Regions from separate parts of the Homo sapiens genome. Here region 2 is linked to region 1. The links are contacts of gene promoters, found by promoter capture Hi-C in human tissues and cell types (Jung and others, 2019). All regions are on one chromosome and are shown on one strand. Each heading gives the region's core, a stretch centred on a gene start or on the middle of the fragment in contact. The rest is flanking DNA. Distances are from core to core; before and after follow the strand shown.

Region 1 (7,810 bases), core at 2,245-4,744:
TGGTGGTGCACACCAGTAGTCCCAGCTATCAGGAGGCTGAGGTGGGAGGATTGCTTGAGCTCAGGAGGTTGACACAGCAGTGAGCCATGATTGCACTACTACACTCCAGCCTGGGCAACAGAGGGAGACCCCACTCTTAAAAAAGTAGAAAAGAGGCTGGGCGTGGTGGCTCGTGCCTGTAATCTCAGCACTTTGGGAGGCCAAGGCAGGCAGATCACCTGAGGTCGGGAGTTCGAGACCAGCCTGACCAACATGGAGAAACCCCATCTTTTCTAAAAATACAAAATTAGCCGGGCACAGTGGCACATGCCTGTAATCCCGCTGCCAGGGAGGCTGAGTCAGGAGAATCACTTGAACCCGGGAGGCAGAGGTTGCTGTCAGCCAAGATTGCACCATTGCACTCCGGCCTGGGCAGCAAGAGTGAAACTCCGTCTCAAGAAAAAAAAAAAAAAAAAGTAAAGAAATTAAGAAACATTAAAATATGTTTTTATATAGACTAAGTATTACTGCTCTAAACCTAATAAAACAGAGCAATGGGATAGGATAAAAGCTAATGTAGAGAGGTCATCAGGAAGTACCTCCTGGAAGTGGTAACATTTGTAACAAGATGTTAAGGGGATAGGTGTTAAGTATTCCCCCACATTCCATGGTGAAGTACCAGGGCACTGGGTCAGTTATCTATGGCTGCACAACCAATTACCCCAAAACGCAGTGACTTAAAACAACCATAAGCATTTATTATCTCACAGTTTCTGTGGTTCAGGAATCTGAGAGCAGCTTAGCTGGGTAGTTCTAGCTTGAGATCTCTTGCGTGATTGTAGTCAAGATGTTGCCTGGGACTGCAAGTCATCTGCAGGCTTGACTGGGGCTAGAGGATCTGCTTCCAAGATGATGCACTCACATGGCTGTTGGTGGGAGGCCTCAGTTCCTTGCCATGTGAGCCTCTCCAAAGGGATGACTGGGCATCTTCACAACATGGCAGAGGCAAAGATAGAAGCCACCATGCTCCTATGATCTAGCCTCACAAGTCACAAAGGATGGTCTCCACTATACAGTATTCTATTTATCACATGGACCAGCTCTGAGTCATTGTGGGAAGAGACTACACAAGGGCACGAATATGAGAACGTAAGGGTCACAGGGAACCCATCTTGAAGGCTGACTACCACAGTCATCTCTGCAGAACTTACAGGCCCTGAGAGTCATATGAGTCATATATGTAGACCCTGAGCTTCACATGAGGCTTTACAGACAGTGACTCATGCCTGTAACCCCAGCTACTCGGGAGGGTGTAGTAGGAGGATTGCTTGGACCCAGGAGCTCAAGGCTGCAGTGAGCTATGATTGCACCACTTCAGGGCAGCCTGGGTGACAAGCAAGACCCTGTCTCAAAAATATTTTTTTTAAATTCTCTGGTTTCCTCTCATAAAAACTAATGAGCAGACAATTCACAGTTCTCTTCTCTGTGTGTCTCTTTGAGGGTTTGATTGAAAGGAGAAGGGATGGAAGGGGATGGAGGGGATTTTAAAAAACAAAAACAGTTGCGTTTCAGGATGGGGATGAAGATGAGGTGGGGTTTGGATTAGAATTGGTGTTGGGATGGGGTGGGATGGGATGGAAAATGGGTTGGGGACAGGGATGGATGTGGGTAAGGTCATGATGTGGTTAGGATGAAGAACAGAGTCCTTGCCAGGTTTGGGAATGGGGAAGGAGTCGAGGCTGGGCTATAGTAGAGAGGGTGATGAAGTTGGATTGGAGAGTGGATGCTGGGCTGCATGTGGATGTGGGGACAGGACTGTGCTTTTGGAGCAGACGTGGCCCTGAAGAAGGGAATGGGATTGGTTGGTCATATATGTAGACCCAGGGCTTGAGGGTCACATTAGGACCATAAATTGGAAATGGGGCAGTGAAACAACACAGCACAGGTCACCTCCTACCTCAGGCAAGTCCCACCATATTTCTGGACCTCCCAGGTGGCCCCACTTTGGACTCAGAGATGGGGGATATACAGCCTCAGCCCTCACAGAATGGCTCCTGTCTAAGGTCACCAGGACCAGGCCATCAGCATATCTCAGGGATTTTCTGTTTTGGGCCTCCGGGATCTCTCATGGCCTCAGGGTCCCTGGTGGCAGTAAACTCAGGAATACCTCAAAAACCTCCGGTTTCATTTTCTCTATTTTTTTAGAAGTGGAGTCGCGCTATGCTGCCCAAGCTGGAGTGCAGCGGCTACTCACAGGAGCAGTCGCACTACTGATCAGCTTGGGGGTGTCGAACTGCTCCGTTTCCAACCTGGAAACCCCTCCTCAGACACCTTAGGCAACCTGGTGGTCCCCTGCTCCCAAAACATCACCATATTGATGCCAAACTTAGTGCAGACGCCCGATCGCCTAGTTCACAATCGCCCAGAACTCCTGGGCTCAAGTGATCCTACTGACTCAGCCTCCCAAGTAGCTGGGACTACAGACATGTGCCACCACACACGGCCCAAACCTCTATTTTTTTTTTTTTTTGGCAGAGATAGGGTCTTGCTATGTTGCCCTGGCTGGTCTCAAATTCCTGTCCTCAAGCGATCCTCCCACCTTGACCTCCCAAAGTATCAAGACTACAGACGCACACCACTGCAGCTGGCCCAAACCTCCACTTTAACAACCACTTATCAGTCTCTTGTTGAACCCTGTGCTATGCCTTGGGTTTGAGATCCAAGTCTAAATAAAACCTGGGCTTTGGGTAGAAAGGTGAGGAGACTGGGAGCCCACAGTCCACTCCCAGTTTCTCAAGCACCAGCTTTTGTAACTCAGAGACTTTGCACCTAACTGTTCTCTCCTGGACTTCTCTTCTTAAGATATGTCTACTCATCCCTCAAGCCCCACCCCAAAGTCCCTTCCTCTATTTGAGCCCTCAGTCCCCCAAGGATTTTGCCAATCTCCTGACCCCTCCTCTCTCACCCTGCTCACCAAGACTGTGCCCAAACCCACCTCCGCCATCAGACTGACAGGTCGTCCTGGGCAGGGTGTGGGTTCCACAGTGCCCGGCATGGGCTGGATACAGAGGAGACTGACTATGTGTCTACAATGCCCAACCAATGCCCACTGGAGACCCCATTCCCTGTATTCCCCCAGGTCACACTCCAAAAAGTCCTCTTACCTGGCTTGGGAGGAAGGTCCTTGTAGGGAGGTGTTGAGTTCTCATAGTCATCATCCTCCTCCTCCTCCTCCATGGTCCCTTCCAGGGGAAAGGCAAGTCAGAGCCCAGCCATTCCCTCCTCCCTCCATCCCTCAAGCCCTGGTCTCTGCCTCAGCTGCCCCATGGTGGGGATTCTGTACCCTGGGTCCTGACCACACCTAGGCCCCAGCCCCAGCCTGGCCGGGGCCTTACCTGGTGGGTCCGGGTACCCAGTGATGGAATACAGATTATGCATGTCTAGCACAGGGAACCTGACAAGTGGCAGCCAGGGCTTGGCAACCTCTGCCCCCTGTCTCTCCGACTCAGGCGTCTGGGGGCTCTCTCAGTTCCCTTTTCCTTTCAAAGTCAAATACATGCAAATTCATTTTGACAGGAAGCCCTCAGACCTCACACGTGCTCACACAAACACACACACACACACACACACACATACACACAGAGCCTTTCTCCCCAGTTTGGATTCACGCACAGAAGGAATAATGACAACTGGCCTGGTGTGGTGGCTCTCGCCTGGAATCCCAGCACTTTTAGAGGCTGAGGTGGATGGATCACTTAAGGCCAGGAGTTCGAGACCAGGTTGGCCAACATGGTGAAACCCAGTCTCTACTAAAAATACAAAAATTAGCCAGGCGCAGTGGCAGGCGCCTGTAATCCCAGCTACTCAGGAGGCTGAGGCAGGAGAATCGCTTGAACCTGGGAGATGGAGGTTGCAGTTAGCCGAGATCACGCCACTGCACTCCAGCCTGAGTGACAGAGTGAGACTCTGTCTCAATAAATAAATAAATTAATTTTTTAAAAAACATTAAATATTAATTAATTAATTAAGGGTCTTGAGATGGATGGTTTATCCTGGATTACCTAGGTGGGCCTTAAATGGCTTTACAGGCCAGGCATCGTGGCTCACGCCTGTAATCCCAGCACTTTGGGAGGCCGAGACAGGCAGATCACGAGGTCAGGAGATCGAGACCATCCTGGCTTACACAGTGAAACTCCGTCTCCACTAAAAATACAAAAAATTAGCTGGGTGTGGTGGCGGGTGCCTGTGGTCCCAGCTACTCGGGAGGCTGAGGGAGGAGAATGGCGTGAACCCAGGAGGTGGAGCTTGCAGTGAGCCGAGATCGCACCACTGCACTCCAGCCTGGGTGACAGAGCGAGACTCCGTCTCAAAAAAAAAAAAAAATGGCATTACAAGGGTCCTCGTAGAAGGGAAACAGAAGGAGATTTGACACAAAAAAAAGGCAATGTGGTCACTAAAGTTATGCTGGCTTTGAAGATGCAAGAAGGAGCCATATGCTAAAGAATGCAACTGCAGAGGCTGGAAACAGCAAGAAAATGGATTCTCACGCTGCAGCCTCTTAAAGAAGCATGGCCCAGCCCATGAACACCTGGGTTTCAGCAGTGAGACTGATGTTGGTCTCCTGACTCCAGAACTATAAAATAATCTGGCCGGGTGCAGTGGCTCACACCTGTAATCCCAACACTTTGGGAGGCCGAGGTGGGTGGATCACGTGAGGTCAGGAGTTTAAGACCAGCTTGGCCAACATGGTGAAATCCCATCTCTACTAAAAATACAAAATTAGCCAGATATGGTGGCGCGCACCTGTAATCCCAGCTACTCAGGAGGCTGAGGCAGGAGAATCGTTTGAACTCGGGAGGTAGAGGTTGCAGTGAGCCGAGATCACATCATTGCACTCCTGCCTGGGCAACAAGAGTGAAACTCCATCTCAAAAAAATAAAATAAAATAATCCATATAATCCATTTCTGGCCAGGCGCGGTGGCTCACGCCTGTAATCCCAACACTTCGGGAGGCTCAGACAGGTGGATCACTTGAGGTCAGGCATTCGAGACCAGCCTGGCCAACATGATGAAATCCCATCTCTACTAAAGTTACAAAAAAAAAAAGAATAGCTGGACATGATAGCGGGCACCTGTAATGCCAGCTACTCGGGTGGCTGCGGCAGAAGAATCGCTTGAACCCGGGAGGCGGAGGCTGCAGTGAGCCAAGATCTCGCCACTGCATTCCAGCCTGGGCAAAAGAGCAGGACTCTATCTCAAAATAGTAACAATAATAATAATTATTATTTCTGTGGTTCCGAGTCACTCAATTTATGAGTAATTTGTTAGAGTCACTATAGGAAACTAATATGTACCCCAAGGGGCAAGACCCCAATTTCCCTTTGTAGAGGTTTTTACTAAAAGTAAGAGGAAATGCAACTCAGATTGGCTTCAACAACAAGGAACATTCATCAGGCCCATGGGGAACATTAGGTTGGGTTTCCATAACTGAGACTCAGAACAAGAGTGTCTCAAACAAAATAGAATGTATTTCTTACCTGACAGGCTCAGTATAAGCAAGTGAGAGCCTCTAACAAATGGAAAAACCTTCCCCCGCACCGCACGTGGGCAATGGGGTAGCCCCGGTCTTAATTGAGGTAGGAGGGCAGCAGCAGATTAACCTCCCTTTCCATTCAAAGCTGACTCTAGGGGCTGGGCTTTCCCCTCTTACATGGCCTGATGTCATAGAGCCTTCCCAGCCTGTAGGAGGGCAAACGTGACTGTACCCATTCCAACCTGTAGGAGGGCAAATGTGACTGTACCCATTCTAGAGATGGGAAAATGGAGACCTGTCTGAGAAGGAAGAAAGAGCCCGTCTGTTCAGCCAACATCTGCTAAGCACACACAAGCTAATCAGGCTCCAGATGGATGGGGGTGGGGAGCAGCTGCAAACAGACATAGGAGGATAGGAGAAGGGGAATAGTAACAGGGGGAGGGACAGGTCAATAGGTCAAAAAGACTGACGGTATATCTGCCCATCAAGAGCACTTTTTAGGCTGAGCATGGTGCCTCATGCCTATAATCCCAGCACTTTGGCAGGCCAAGGCAGGAGGATCTCTTGAGGCCAGGAGCTTGAGACCATCCTGGACAACAAAGTGAGACCCCAACTATACAGAAAAACAAAATTTTTTAGGCTGGGCACGGTGGCTCACGCCTGTAATCCCAGCACTTTGGGAGGCTGAGGTGGGCGGATCACCTGAGGTCAGGAGTTCGAGATCAGCCTGGCAAACATGGTGAAACCCTGTCTCTACTAAAAAATACAAAAATTAGCCGGGCGTGGTGGCAGGCGCCTTAATCCCAGCTACTTGGGAGGCAGAGGCAGGAGAATCATTTGAACCCAGGAGGCAGAGGTTGCAGTGAGCCGAGATCGAGCCATCACACTCAAGCCTGGGGGACAAGAACGAGACTTCTCTCAAAAAAAAAATTTTTTTTAATTAGCTGGGCATGGTGGTGCATGCCTGTAGATCCAGCTACTTGGGAGGCTGAGGTGGGAGGATCGCTTGAGCCCAGGAGATTGAGGATGCAGTGAGCTGTGATCATACCACTGTGCTCAAGCCTGGGCAACAGAGCAAAACTCTGTCTCAAAAAAAAAAAAAAAAAAAAAAAGCACTCTTAGAGGTAAGGGGACCTTCTTACAATAAAGGCTGGGTGGTCTCATGGTATAGGGGTGATAGCTACCTGGCCAATACCATCCCTCGGGACCTGGCACACAGTAGGTATTCAGGAACAGATGTTGGAATCCAGCCCCATTCACTGAAATAACAAGGCTATGAGCCCAGGCTGCTTCCAGCTCAGGCCCATTCTTGCTGTGTCACCTTGGGGGTGCAGAACAACATCTCTGAGCATTAGTCTCCTGATATGTCAAACAGGGATTCATTTGTTCATTCATTGATTCAACAGATAAGTACTGACCACCTACTCTGTGTTAGGCTCTAACACATAAGAACCGAAATACACTGGTGAACAACAACAAAAAATTTTACCCATGGGAGCAGCAACAGGGAGAAAGAGAGTGAATAAAATAAATAACTCAACTACATTAGAAGTTATGTTAGATAGTCACAAATAGAAAAAGAAGAAAAACACAGGTGCAGTGGTGTGAGCCTATAGTCCCAGCTACTCAGGAGGCTGAGATGGGAGGAGTCCTGGAGCCCAGGAGTTTGAGGCTGCAGTGCATTATGGTCACGCCTGTGAATAGCCACTGCACTCCAGCCTGGGCAACATAGTGAGACCCCATCTCTAAAAACAAGAAAAGAAAAAGAAGTAGATGGCCAGGCACAGTGGCTCATGCCTGTAATCCCAGCACTTTGGGAGGCCGAAGCCAGGGGATCACCTGAGGTCAGGAGTTTGAGGCCGGCCTGGCCAATACGGTGAAGCCCTGTCCCTACTAAAAATACGAAAATGAGCTGGGCGTGGTGGTGTGCACCTGTAATCCCAGCTACCACGGAGGCTGAGGCAGGACAATCGCTTGAACCTGCAAGGCAAAGGTTGCAGTGAGCCAAGATCGCACCACTGCACTCCAGCCTGGGTGACAGAAAGAAACTCCATCTCAAAAAAATAAAAATAAAAATAAAGTAGAAACAGAAAAAGAAGAAAAAGAAAGAAGGAGAAAGGAATCACATGTACATGGGGGATTGCAATAAAGAGGAGGATCAGGCTGGGCATGGTGACACACGCCTGGAATCCCAGCACTTTGGGAGGCTGAGGCAGGTGGATTACCTGAGGTCGGGAGTTCAAGAACAGCCTGACCAATATGATGAACAACCAGCCTGGGTAAGGTAGGGAGACCCTG
Region 2 (7,810 bases), core at 1,558-4,057, 170 kb before region 1:
CAGATCACCTGACATCAGGAGTTTGAGCCCAGCCTGGCCAATATGGTGAAACCCTGGCTATTAAAAATACAAAAATTAGCTGGGCTTAGTGACACGTGCCTGTAATCCCAGCTACCTGGGAAGCTGAGGCAGGAGATTCGCTGGAACCCAGGAGGCAGAGGCTGCAGTGAGCTGAGATCGTGCCACTGCACTCCAGCCTGGGTGACAGAGTGAGACTCCGTCTAAAAAAAAAAAATATATATATATATATGTATAACTTATACTTTTTGTCTAACTGTATGTCTCTACCTGTTAACTCACCTCTCTTCATCCCAGTGATACAGGAGTGAAAAAGAAATTATTTAGGCAGTTAGCAAGGGTCAGAGAGTCCTCAGTAAGGTTTCCCTTTTAATAAAAACCAGCCCCCAAATCATTTCTTTTCTAATAACGAGCAGCCTGAAAATTCGAGCTGCAGACATAGAAAAGCAAGCTGGAAGCTTGCACGGGTGAATGCCGGCAGCTGTGCCAATAGGAAAAGGTTACCTGGGGGCCCGACATGTTCAACGTGGGGGCTCCCTCTTCCTTTATCTTTGTCAACCACGTGTACAGTACAGAAGCAGGCAACGTGGAGCCAGCCAGGTAGAGAATCCATTTGCATAATAAAAGATTAGGCTGGGGCAGCCAGTTTCTTCATGCTGTATGTAAATGGCTCACCTGTTCAGACCAATCTTTAAGCCTTATGTAAATCGGACACCGCCTACCCAAGCTCATCTATAAAACTTCGTGCATTTCACCACGCAACCGGAAGACCCACTTGGGAGCCCCTGTCTCTCTGCAGGAGAGGGAGTTATTCTCTTTTTCCTTTTTTTTTTTTTGAGACGGAGTCGTGCTGTGTCCCGCAGACTGCAGTGCAGGGGCGCGATCTCGGCTCACTGCAAGCTCCGCCTCCCGGGGTCACGCCATTCTCCTGCCTCAGCCTCCGGAGTAGCTGGGACTACAGGCGCCCACCACCATGCCCAGCTAATTTTTTTGTATTTTTAGTAGAGACGGGGTTTCACCGTGTTATCCAGGTTGGTCTCGATCTCCTGACCTCGTGATCCTCCCGCCTCAGCCTCCCAAAGTGCTGGGATTACAGGCGTGAGCCACTGCGCCCAGCCAGAGCTATTCTTTTTTTCTTTCGCCTATTAAATCTCCACTCTTAAACTAACTTCTTATGTGTCCACATCCTCAATTTCCCTGGTGTGAAACAGTGAAACTTGGGTATTTACACCACTTCACTAGTGAGATGATACCTCATTGTGGTTTTGATTTGCCCTTCCCTGATAACTAATGATGTTTAACATCTTTTCATGTGTTTGCTCACCATTTGCATGTCATTTTTGGAGAAATGTCTATTCAAATCCTTTGCCTATTTTTAATTGTGCTGTTTGTCTTTTGGTTGTCCAGTTGTAAGCATTCTTTAAACATTCTGATAGTAGATCATCTGAGATGAATGATTTGCAAAATATTTTCTCCCGTTCTGTAGATTGTCTTTTCATTTTCTTGTCTTTTCACTTTAATGAATAGAAGTTTTAAATCTTGAAGACATTTATTTTATCTAATTTTTCTTTTGTTGCATGTGCAATTGGTGTCATATTTAAGAATTCATTGACAGGGGGTGGTGGCTCACGCCTGTAATCCCAGCACTTTGGAAGGCCAATGTGGGCGGATCACCTGAGGTCAGGAGTTTGAGACCAGCCTGGCCAACAAGGCGAAACCCTGTCCTTACTAAAAATAAAAATAAAAATAATTAACCAGATGTGTTGGCACATGACTGTAATCCTAGCTACTCAGGAGGCTGAGGCAGGAGAATTGCTTGAACCTGGGACACGGAGGTTGCAGTGAGCTGAGATTGTGCCACTACACTCCAGCCTGGATGACAGAGCAAGACTCTGTCCCAAAAATAAAAATAAAAAAAGAATTCATTACCGCATCCAAGACCAGGAAGATTTACCCCTGTTTCCTCCTAAGTGTTCTAGTTTTAGCTTCTAAGCTTAGGTCACTGGCTTATTTTGAGTTAATTTTTGTTTGTTGTGTGAGGGTAGGGTTAAAACTTCCTTATTTTCATGTTACTATCCAGTAATCCCAGCACTATTTGTTGAAGAGATTATTCTTTCCCCCATTGTATAGTCTTGGCACCCCTTGTTGAGAATCAACTGACCATAAGATGGATGGGTTTATTCCTGGACTCTCAATTCTATTCTGTTGTGTCCTTATGCCAGTATTACTGTCAGTTTGTAGTAAGTTTTGGAATCAGGTAGTGTGAATTCTCCAACCTTCTTGTTCTTCTTCAAGATTGTTTTTGGGTATTTGGATTCCTTACAACACCATATGAATTTTAAGATGAACTTTTCTTATTCTGCAAAGTAATAATAGGCTAAAATATTGATAGGGATTGCATTGAGTCTCTAGACCACTTTGGGGGAGTATTGTTATCTTAACAATAGAAAGTCTTCCAATCCATGAACATAGGCTGTCTTTCCATTTAGAGAGGGCCTTTTATTTCTTTCAAACACTTTTGTAGGCCAGAAGCAGTGGCTCACGCCCAATATTGTCAGAGGCCACCAAGGTGGGAGAATTGCTTGAGCCCAGGAGTTCAAGCCCAGCCTTGGAAATATACTGAAACATGATCTCCACAAAAAATTTAAAAATTAGCTGGCTGTGGTAGTGAGCACCTGTAGTGCCAGCTACTTGGGAGGCTGAGGTGGAAGGATTGGTTGAGCCCAGGAGACTGCAGTGAGCTATGATCATGCCACTGCACTCTAGCCTGACCAACAGGTGAGAATTTGTCTCAAAAAAAAAAAAATACTCAAAAAACTTTCCTATAAGTCTTGAGTCTCCTTCGTAAAATGTATTCCTAACATTTTTGCTGAAAATTTTTGCATCTATGTCCATAAGAAATATTGGTCTATAATTTTATTTTCTTGTGATGTCTTCATCTGGTTTTGTTATCAGAGCAATATTAGACTCATAAAATTACTTAAATAGTGTTTCCTCCTCTTCCATATTTTTAAAAAGGTAAAAGATTCATGTTCATTCTTTCTTAAGCTATTGGTAGAACTCACCAGTGAAGTCATCTGGTCTGGGCTGTTAGTTTTGAGAGGTTTTGATTACTGATTTAATCTGTTATAGGTCTGTTCAGATCTTCTATTTCTTCTTGAGTTGATTTCAGTGGTTTGTGTGTCACTAGGAATGTGTCCATTTCATCTAGGTTACCTACTTTGTAGATATACAGTTGCTCACACTATTCTCTTCCGATATTTTGTAACTTCAGACTATATATGTATATAGTATATATATTAAGTCATAGTATATCAACCACTGCAGGCACGATTCCTAACCTAACCCCCCTTATGTAATTCCCACAACTCATAGAATTGTCCCTGGAGGTGCAGAAGCAAGTAGACAGGAGTGTCACCTTGAGACAGAATCAGGCAGTGATGCAGCTCGACTGGAATCAGGCACAGAAATCTGGTGACCCAGGTAATGGCTGAGATGGGGAGGTGGTCAGTGAAGCTTCATGGTGGGAAAAGATGCCCAAGAATGTGAAAAATAAGAAATTTAAAGATTAAAGGGAAGTGTGGGATGTTTGGAGTGGGGCTGTAAGAGGAGAGTCCAGCTGAGGAGGAACGGACCTTGTTGGGGACCCTGAGATATTAACCGTGGCCTTGTCCTGCAGGATGTGATACACATAGAACTAAAGATTGAAGGAAAGTGTGGGAGGGGTGAAGCCAAAGGAAGGTAGCCCATCTGAGTAGAAAGTTCTGTGCAGGGCAGAGGAACTCTGGTGTGGACCCAGAGATTCAACCTACTCCAAGATTCAACCTTGGCCTCGCCCTGCAGGCCCTTCTGTGGTGGGCCTTGTCTCCATTCCAGGGATGGGCAAGTTGCTGGCTGAGGCCCCTCTGGTCCTGGAACCTGAGAAGCAGATGCTTCTGCATGAGACACACCAGGGCTTGCTGCAGGACGGCTCCCCCATCCTGCTCTCAGATGTGATCTCTGCCTTTCTGAGCAACAACGACACCCAAAACCTCAGCTCCCCAGTTACCTTCACCTTCTCCCACCGTGTGAGTGCTGGTGGAGTTGGTTGGTGGGTGAATAGTCTGAGTCCGGGCATAGCCTTGCTGCTCAGCTCAGCCCTGGGGCTCAGGGGTCTCTGTTATGGGTACATTATCTCCCCAGGAAAGTCAGTCCTTCCCAAGCCGGCTTTGGGTAAGCATTTCTGAGCATCCGACCCACCAGCTCACACCTGTGTTCTTTTTTTTATTGAGACAGAGTCTCGCTGTGTCAGCCAGGCTGGAGTGCAGTGGCACGATCTCAGCTCACTGCAGTCTCCGCCTCCCAGGTTCGAGCGATTCTCCTGCCTCAGCCTCCCTAATAGCTGGGACTACAGGTGTGTGCTACCACGCCCAGCTAATTTTTGTATTTTTTTTTTTTTTTTTTTTTTTTAGTAGAGATGGGGTTTCACCATGTTGGCCAGGCTGGTCTCAAACTCCTGACCTCAAGTGATCCACCTGCTTCAGCCTCCCAAAGTGCTGGGATTACAGGCGTGAGCCACCATGCCCAGCCCACACCTGTGTTCTGTTCCTGCAGTCAGTGATCCCGAGACAGAAGGTGCTCTGTGTCTTCTGGGAGCATGGCCAGAATGGATGTGGTCACTGGGCCACCACAGGCTGCAGCACAATAGGCACCAGAGACACCAGCACCATCTGCCGTTGCACCCACCTGAGCAGCTTTGCCGTCCTCATGGCCCACTACGATGTGCAGGTGAGACCCTTAGGAGGGGATGCACTCTGCATTTATTGCCGTGTAACAAATCCCCAGAGACGTAGCAGCCTTTTAAAAAAATATATGCATTATCTCACAGCTCTGGGTCAGCAAGCTGGCATAGCAAGATGGCTTTTCTGCTCAGGGTCTTACAAGACTGAAATCATCATGTCACCCCACCCCCAGGGCTGCCATTTCATCTGAGACTTGAGGTCCTTCTCCAAGCTCCCTGGTTGCTGGCAGAATTCAGTTTCTTGTGATTGTAGGACTGAAGTCTCACTTTCTTAGCTGTCAGGAAGGCATCACATTCAGTTCCTAGAGGCCACTCATATCCCTTCTCACATGACCCTCTGGCAAACTTCTAGCATTCCTATCTGGAGGACAAGGAAAAAAATTTCCTCACGCAGAATCCCTCTTAAGCTTTGTATTAGTCGAGGTTCTCTAGAGGGACAGAACTAATGGAATAGATAGATAGATAGATAGATAGATAGATAGATAGATAGATAGATAGATAATTTCTGCCTGCTTATATTCTAGCCACGCTGGCAGCTGATTAGATGGTGCCCACCCAGATTAAGAGTGGATCTGCCTTTCCCAACCCACTGACTCAAATATATACATATATAGAGATATATAGAGAGAGATCTATATATATAGATAGATATAGATATATATAAAGGGGAGTTTATTAGGTATTAACTCACATGATCACAAGGTCCCACGATAGGCCGTCTGCAGGCTGAGGAGCAAGGAGAGCCAGTCCGAGTCCCAGAACTGAAGAACTTGGAGTCTGATGTTCAAGGGCAGGAAGCATCCAGCACAGGAGAAAGATGTAGGCTGGGAGGCTAGGCCAGTCTCTCTTTTCACATTTTTCTGCCTGCTTATATTCTAGCCACGCTGGCAGCTGATTAGACAGTGCCCACCCAGATTAAGAGTGGATCTGCCTTTCCCAGTCCACTGACTCAAATGTTAATTTCCTTTGGCAACACCCTGATAGACACACCCAGGATCAATACTTTGTATCCTTCAATCCAATCAAGTTGACACCCAGTATTAACCGTCACAAGTTTTGAATCTGATTCTCCAGGAAGAGCCCAGAGCTTATAAAGACTCATCTGATTAGGTCTGGCCCACCCAGGGTAAACTCTGCCTTTTTTTTTTTTTTAGACAGGGTCTCTGTCACCCAGGCTGGAGTGCAGTGGCACAGTCATAGCTCACTGCAGCCTTGACCTTCTGGGTTCAAGGGATCCTCCTGCCTCAGCCTCCTGAGTAGCTGGGACTACAGGCATGCACCACCATGCCCGGCTAATTTTTGTATTTTTACTAGAGATGGGGTTTCACCAAGTTGGCCAGGCTGGTCTCGAACTCCTTACCTCAAGTAATCCACCCGCCTCGGCCTCCCAAAGTGCTGGTATTACAGGCAGGAACCACCACACCTCGCCCACCTGACTTTCTTATCTCATCACTTAGAGTAGATCCAAGGGACATCATCATCATATCCTGCGGGAGAAAGGGCCAAACCACCCTTTTGTTTTCCATGACAGGAACATCTTATCAATATCCTCCCAGGCAGCAAGCCATACCGCCCAGCCCCTCCCGCCCAGACCTGTAATTACCCCAGCCTGTAAGCGGCAGTGGGTTCTGGCACGAAGCTAGCTCCCCCCTCCACAAGTCTCCTGCTGGACATAAACCTGCATTGCTGTAGAGCTGCCAACTCTCTGTCTTTCTTTAACTCTCACTTTCCCTTCAAAACCTAACGGGCCCACACCTGGAATCTCTGTGCTTTGGGAGGCTGAAACGGGAGGATCACTTGAGCCCAGGAATTCGAGACCAGCCTGTGCAACACAGAAAGACCCTGTCTCTACAAAAATAAAAAAAAAATTAGGACGGGTGTGGTGGCTCACGACTGTAATCCCAGCACTTTGGGAGGCCGAGGCGGGTGGATCATGAGGTCAGGAGTTCAAGACCAGCCTGGCCAACATGGTGTGACCCTGTCTCTACTAAAAGTATAAAAATTAGCCTGGCATGGAGGCACGTGCCTGTAATCCCAACTACTTGGGAGGCTGAGACACGAGAATCGCTTGAACCGAGGAGACAGAGGCTGCAGTGAGCAGAGATCGCACCACTGCACTCCAGCCTGGGCGACAGAGCAAGACTGTCAAAAAAAAAAATTAGCAGGGCATGGTGCCATACATGACTATAATGCACACCCGTTGTCACCTACATGACTACGCCTGTATTCCTAGCCACCCATGAGGCTCGGGTGACACCTTCGCAAATTAAATTAAATTGGTGACATCTTCACAAATTTACCTGGCTCCCTCATTCTTGAATGTGCTATGCCAAAGTAAAAATTTTAAATGGTGGTGGGGTCATTACCCCAGAGCAGGAAAGCATCACTGTGAACTCTTCTTTTCCGGGTCCCAGGAGGAGGATCCCGTGCTGACTGTCATCACCTACATGGGGCTGAGCGTCTCTCTGCTGTGCCTCCTCCTGGCGGCCCTCACTTTTCTCCTGTGTAAAGCCATCCAGAACACCAGCACCTCACTGCATCTGCAGCTCTCGCTCTGCCTCTTCCTGGCCCACCTCCTCTTCCTCGTGGCAATTGATCAAACCGGACACAAGGTATTGACAGCGGTGTTCCAGAGGGCTCCCTTCCTTGACGCAGGACACGCTGGCTCATGGAATGATGCGGCATTTGATTCCTTAATATAATAGCCCGGCTGGGCGTGGTGGCTCATGCCTGTAATCCCAGCACTTTGGGAGACTGAGGTGGGCGGATCACCTCAGGTCGGGAGTTTGAGACCAGCCTGACCAACATGGAGAAACCCCGTCTCTACTAAAAATACAAAATTAGCCAGGCATGGTGGCGCATACCTGTAATCCCAGTTACTCAGGAGGCTGAGGCAAGAGAATCTCTTGAACCCAGGAGGTGGAGGTTGTGGTAAGCCGAGATCGCACCATTGCATGCCAGCCTGGGCAACAAGAGTGAAATTCCGTCTCAAAAAAAAAAAAAAAAAAATAT

Evidence for each region. Contacts are between HindIII fragments. The study calls those that stand out against the background at their distance.
Region 2: a fragment that was not itself captured here is called in contact with the fragment with the promoter of CLEC17A in region 1 in 1 of the 25 tissues and cell types used here (spleen).

The regions. Positions count from the first base shown.
Region 1 is chr19:14,578,768-14,586,577 of GRCh38, reverse strand. CLEC17A (C-type lectin domain containing 17A) reads right to left here and starts at 3,494. Exons shown (of 14, transcript NM_001204118.2): 1 at 3,375-3,494; 2 at 3,144-3,221. The coding sequence starts at 3,417. It also overlaps the pseudogene RN7SL337P. RefSeq lists enhancers at 1,021-1,070, 3,210-3,379, 5,821-5,870 and a silencer at 3,721-3,864. The HindIII fragment of the contact is 21,633 bases long and covers 1-7,810 here.
Region 2 is chr19:14,751,929-14,759,738 of GRCh38, reverse strand. It overlaps ADGRE2 (adhesion G protein-coupled receptor E2), which reads left to right. Exons shown (of 21, transcript NM_013447.4): 12 at 3,394-3,501; 13 at 3,862-4,085; 14 at 4,612-4,785; 15 at 7,213-7,410. Among named protein-coding and RNA genes, the nearest start is that of ADGRE2, 23 kb to the left of the region's middle. RefSeq lists enhancers at 1-502, 503-1,026. The HindIII fragment of the contact is 3,126 bases long and covers 1,245-4,370 here.